Regions from separate parts of the Homo sapiens genome. Here region 1 is linked to region 2. The links are contacts of gene promoters, found by promoter capture Hi-C in blood cells and fetal thymus (Javierre and others, 2016). All regions are on one chromosome and are shown on one strand. Each heading gives the region's core, a stretch centred on a gene start or on the middle of the fragment in contact. The rest is flanking DNA. Distances are from core to core; before and after follow the strand shown.

Region 1 (2,700 bases), core at 24-2,523, 290 kb before region 2:
TCTTTGGTCTGTGGCCTCAGGTCTGCTGGGTCACCAGTGTCCTTGGGTATATGGGGCATTGGTGGTGACTGGGACCCACCTGCCAGATCCCCAGGCTAGAAGGAGGCCTGCTGGGGACACTGTGGCAATGCCCACACCCAACCCATCCCACACTGCCTTCCGCTCCTTCCTCCTCCATCAACTGGGGGCAAGGACAGTGTCCCCTTTGAGGGGCTACACCAGACCGAGCTGAGCCTGGGGCTTGTTACCCAGGAAACAGTGAAATCACCCGCTCGTTGCCTAGCTCTAATTCTGCGTTCAGTGTCTTGCTCCATCCTGTCCTCCCTCCCTAGGGCAGGCTCCAGCACTCCATGCCAAGGGGAAGAGCCTTTGAGGAGTCGTCTCTGCCATCATCAGGACTGAGGGAAAAGGAAGTCTAGGAGATTAGGGCAAGCCCTCAGTTTTCTTTTCTTTTCTTTCTTTCTTTTTTTCTCTCTCTCTCTCTGTCTCTCTCTCTCTCTTTTTTTTCTTTTTCTTTCTTATTTTTTTGAGACGAAGTCTCGCTCTGTCACCCAGGCTGGAGTGCAGTGGCACCATCTTGCTTCACCGCCACCTCCACCTCCCGGGTTCAGGCGATTCTCCTGCCTCAGCCTCCTGAGTAGCTGGGACCACAGGTGCCCGCCACCAGGTCTGGCTGTTTTTTTGTATTTTTAGTAGAGACGGGGTTTCACCATGTTAGCCAAGATGGTTTCAATCTCCAGCTCCTGAGCTCGTGATCTGCCCGCCTCGGCCTCCCAAAGAGCTGGGATTACAGGCGTGAGCCACCGCGCCTGACCCCTTCAGCTTCCTCAGGTCGACTTAAACAGGAAACAGAATAACACGTTTCATGTTTCTCCTGAACTTTTATGACCGTGTGCAAAACTCCTGCAAAAATAGGGAAGACAGCAAGAAAAAGCAGCCAAGACAGGCACAGCTTCTGAGCTAAGCTTGCAGCTTGTGTATGAGACACGGGGGCAAGATTATGGTTACCGCCCCCCCCACGCAGCAGCAACCCCCTGACCAAGGACGGGGAAGTCAGTCTGTCTTCAAAGCATTAGGTTGTAGACTCGACATCAGACGAAGAGAGACACAAAGGCATGGGGAAAGAGAAAGGGTGAGGTTTGGCTGGAACCTAATCAAAGGTATTAACTTATCTGAAAAAATGCCATGGGTGTCAGGAGGGAGGAGGGGTGGGGAATGGAATGGAGAAAGCAGCCAAGGTCAGGGTGAGGGCTGCTCGCGGGACACCTCCCGCCCATGTGGACGGACAGGCCATGAACTTCGGGGAAGAAGCAGGAAGCAGACAGGGCCGGGGCCCAGGCATTCCGCCCTCTAGCCGGTCCCTGAGCAGGGGTCTGTGTCATCCGCTCCTGTGTCCTCCCCCACAGATAAGAATCTGCTAGTCCGAGCGTGGAGCATTCGGTTCTTTGGTGTTTATATTTCATCATGCACATAAATGGGCTATTATACTCAGTTACACGTCAGGCTCTGGTGAGCTCGATTCATGTAAACTAACTCCAGGACAAGTGTGCCTTCTCGGTGTGATGGCAAAACCAAGCTTCTGGGCCAGGGGGTCCTGCCCCATGGGGATCTCGCAGGGTGAAGGCTCCAGAAATGCCCAGACAGCCACCAGGGTACCGGCCTGGTATGCACCATCCTGACCATCAGCCAGGAATGTCACCATTTTCTAAGATGCTCTACAAATCTGAACATCTCAAGGTCAATATTTGAGGTATAGTTCAGTCACTGCACTCCTAGCTTGGAAGTCCTAAGCTATGCAATAATTTATTTCTGTAATAATGGCCCTGATCTATTAAACCTGTCTCCAAGTTGCTTCTTCAAATCTATCTGGGTGCAAACAGCAAATCTCTGTAATTACAGTTTATACTTCTCACAATGTTCTACACGGCCTGCACTTTTAAAAGACTGGCCGGGCGCAGTGGCTCCCGCCTGTAATCCCAGCACTTTGGGAGGCCAAGACGGGTGGATCACCTGAGGTAGGGGTTCAAGATCAGCCTGGCCCACATGGTGAAACCCCGTCTCTACTAAAAATACAAAAATTAGCCAGGCGTGGTGGTGCACGCCTGTAATCCCAGCTACTTGGGAGGCTGAGGCAGGAGAATCGCTTGAACCCAGGAGGCGGAGGTCGCAGTGAGCAGAGATGGTGCCACTGCACTCCAGCCTGGGGGACAGAGCGAGACTCCATTGCAAGAACCACAAAAATATAATAAATAAAAGTTGGGCCTCACTCCTCCCCGGGGCCTTGGTGTGGCAAGCTGCAGGTGAAGTCAGAGGCTCTCTCACTCGTTGTGAAGTGTTTGTGCGTGTACATAGTCCACTAAAATATTCACTCAACATTCTGCGCATGCACGTTTTATAAAACAAGATTATCTATTTTCTTCATCAATCGGATTGGCACAGTCCTGAAGTGTGACAACATGCTGAGCTGTCAGGGGACTTTGAAACACCGCTGCCGGGGGCGTGACTGTCACAATCCTACTTAGCAATACCCGCTAGACCCAGACATTCCGGGCTTGATAGGCAATATAAAAAAGGCTATATAGCATCCTGGTGAGCGTTAGCATTCGCGGATCCGGTTATCTACAGCAGCACCGCCATAACAGACGGACGCGAACGCCCTCGATGCCCCGGGCAGGAAGCTTCCCCGTAGAAGTATCCCAG
Region 2 (2,864 bases), core at 276-2,775:
ACCAAAGCAGCACTTACTTAGGTTCTTCTCAGGGATGGATACAGGCTGGCTAGGAGAAGGTGGGAGAGGGGCTGGCTGGGGACTTTTACAGCCAGCCACAGAGATGGCCCTGGACACAATCTTGCTAAGGGACCTCAGACCACAGCCCCAGCTCCAGCCTCCCGGCAGGCGAGCAGCGCCCAGCACGACTCCAACCAGCCACCGTCCCTCCCCCACACCCTCCCCAGTGCTGTCAGCGTCCTCACTTCTTCTGGAAGGCCAGGAGCAGCCTCGGGTCCAGGATGTTCTCCTCCGGCTCCCAGCTGTTATGTCTGCAAAGCAGAGGACAGGGCAGCATTAGACGCCAGGCTGATGATCACCGCTTTGCAAGGCAGCCCGAGGGGGCTCGCCCTCACCGCTCCTCGACTTGGGCCGATGGCAGTGGCACCGTAGCACCATGGCACTTCTCAAAGTCCAAACCCAGGTTTTGGAGGCTGGCCACCCCCCACCAAGCCAGCACTCTAACCTCAGACCCAAAGGGAAACTGCCGCTCCAACCCCCCAATTAAAACAAGGCCACAAGAGGACTCCCACAGTCTCTGCCTGGGAGAAAAACAAACCCCCATAAAACGCAAAGTTGCAGAGAGGGATTCCCCCAAACCCTGGCCCGGAGCCAGAGGAGGAAGGGAAGGCAGGTCCAGCATGCAGGGAGGGGCACAGGCGCCCAGCCCGAGATCCAGAACAATGTGGCGCGCGGGCCGGGGCACCTCGAGGGGTAGCGAAGAAAGAGCGGGGTCCGGGAAGACGCAGAAACGGGGCCGCGGGAGCAGCTGTGCAGAGAGCCCCTTCCGGGGATGCCAAACACCCTCCCTTCCATTAAAAGAAAGAAAAAAAAAAAGAAACTCTACATCCATCAATAGCAAGCTCAGGTTACAGCGGGGAGAATCTGGCCAAGAGGAGGGGGGCTTGCATCCCGCGCCTCCCTCCCGGCCGGGACGGGGGTTGGGGGGAGCGCGGCGCGGCAGCCGAGGAGGTTCTGGCGCGGGGGGCCGCCCAGCTCTGCACCCGCGGGCGTGTAAACAAAGGGCAACCTCGGGCCGGGCGGCCCCCGCCCCCCTCAGAGCCGGAGGAGCCCGCGGGGACCCCGCGAACTTCCCGCTCTGCCCGCGGGCGCCCCCAGGCCACCGGACGGCGCGGCCGAGGGGCTCCACGTCCCCACCCCCGGGCGAGGGGGCGGGAGGGGGGCGCGGCGTCGCGGGGGACTCACTTGGAGGACCAGCCGCGCCACTTGACCAGGTACTCCAGCTTGCCCTGCGGGGAGAGAAGAGGGGCCGTGAGCCAGACGGACAGCGGGCGGCGGGCGGGGGGCCCGGCGGGCCGCACGCACCTTGCGGAGCCGCTTGCTCAGGATGCACTCGGCGGCGAAGACCTGCTCGCCCACGCTGCTCAGCTCCTCCATGCTGCCCGGCAGCCAGCCCGACCGCGGCGCCCGCCGCCAGTCACCCGCCCGGACCGCCGCGCGCCCCGCCGGCAGCACACAAAGCACCGCCCCCGCCCGGCGCCGGCCCGCCCCGCGCACGCGCACCGCCGCTCCGCGCCCGCGCCCCGGCCCGCCGCCCGCCCCCGCGCGCTGCCCAAATCCCGTGCGGGCCAATCAGCGAGGGGGGGCGGGTGCGGGGCGGGGCGGGGCGCGCATTGTCCGCGGCGGGCTGGGCCTCGCGCTCCGGCGGGGGGTCCCGCGCGGGGCCCCGGGCGGGGGCGGGGGCGGGGGTGGGGGCGCGGGCGGGCCCCTGGCTGGGGGAGGAGGTGCCTAGGGACTTCGGGCCTGGGGCGCCCACCGAGTCCCGCGTGATTCCCGGGGCGCGCCCGCCCTTGCTCCCAACTCCGTTTTCCGGGCAAAAAGCCATTGTTCTGGCCCGAAGGGAGGGAAGCGGGACGGGGCGCGGCGGCTGCTTCCTGCCCCCGCCTTCGAGGGGCGCTGCTCCGGGGCACGCGGGGCCCCACCCTTCCCCCGGCTTCTTGAACTGGCTTTTCCTCGGCAGCGGGGGAGTCGCTCTGTTTTGGACGAGAGCAAAACGGGTCGGGGGCTGGGGAAGGAAAGGAAGACGAAGTCCGGGGGAGGGGCCCACAAACCCCAGCAGCCGAGGCTTTTTCCCCCAAAGGCGAGAGAGGAAAATGCTTTAACTTAAACCACCAAGCACTCTGAGAAAGAAGTAATACGAACTGCCCGGAGTTCTTATTAAACAGCTATGAAAAGTGGATCCAGCCCCCGAGTTTTAGGGCACGTGTAGGGAGAAAACCAGCTGCACCTTTTCTGAATTTGTTCCCCGATTTTGATGAAATGGAGGGGGAGGGGGCGGTTTGCAAGGCTGTTCCTAACTTCGGACTAGGTCAGTAGTGGCCCGCCAGGGCTGGGCAGCCGGCGTCCTTCGGATCAATTGTCCGCGGCAGAAAAGGGTCAGGCCATGTTATGAAAGTGGGGGTGACCCCTTGTCCTCCCTGTGATCGTCGTCAGCAGGCTACCCTTTTATTCCGGTGTTAAGATTCGAATTCCATGAAGAATCACCCTTTAAGTTATTTAGATTTTGAATCAGGACAAGTCAAACACGTAATGAAAGAGACCTGAGCCTTAGCTTCATTCGTCTCAACGCAGTCTAACTCCATGAAAATTCACTCTCTGCTTTTCTTGCTTCCTTGAACACAGCTGCAAAATTCTCTTTCTGTTGAGCAGATCCAAAAGTCGTTTCTTGTTGTAGGAGACTGTCTCAATGTAATTGTGATCATCAAAACCATATTTATAAAGGGTTCTGCAGGAGAAATGTGTTTTTTTGTTTTTACAGAAAGGCCTACTGGAGAAAATACTGAACTGTAGGAACCGATCTTTCA

The links. The method cuts DNA at HindIII sites, captures the fragments that hold promoters and counts their contacts. A CHiCAGO score of 5 or more calls a contact.
Region 1: a contact is called between a fragment that was not itself captured here and the fragment with the promoter of CBX2 in region 2, in 1 of 17 cell types (endothelial precursors). The highest score is 5.1, in endothelial precursors.

The regions. Positions count from the first base shown.
Region 1 is chr17:80,067,579-80,070,278 of GRCh38, reverse strand. The region is part of intron 10 of CCDC40 (coiled-coil domain 40 molecular ruler complex subunit); the gene reads right to left. All of the region lies in intron 1 of LOC124904074 (a long non-coding RNA gene), which reads left to right. Among named protein-coding and RNA genes, the nearest start is that of MIR1268B, 30 kb to the left of the region's middle. The HindIII fragment of the contact is 611 bases long and covers 968-1,578 here.
Region 2 is chr17:79,776,809-79,779,672 of GRCh38, reverse strand. It overlaps CBX2 (chromobox 2), which reads right to left and starts at 1,525. Exons shown (of 5, transcript NM_005189.3): 1 at 1,366-1,525; 2 at 1,246-1,289; 3 at 246-311. The coding sequence starts at 1,437. RefSeq lists an enhancer at 272-865 and silencers at 1,261-1,330, 1,341-1,720. The HindIII fragment of the contact is 13,003 bases long and covers 1-2,864 here.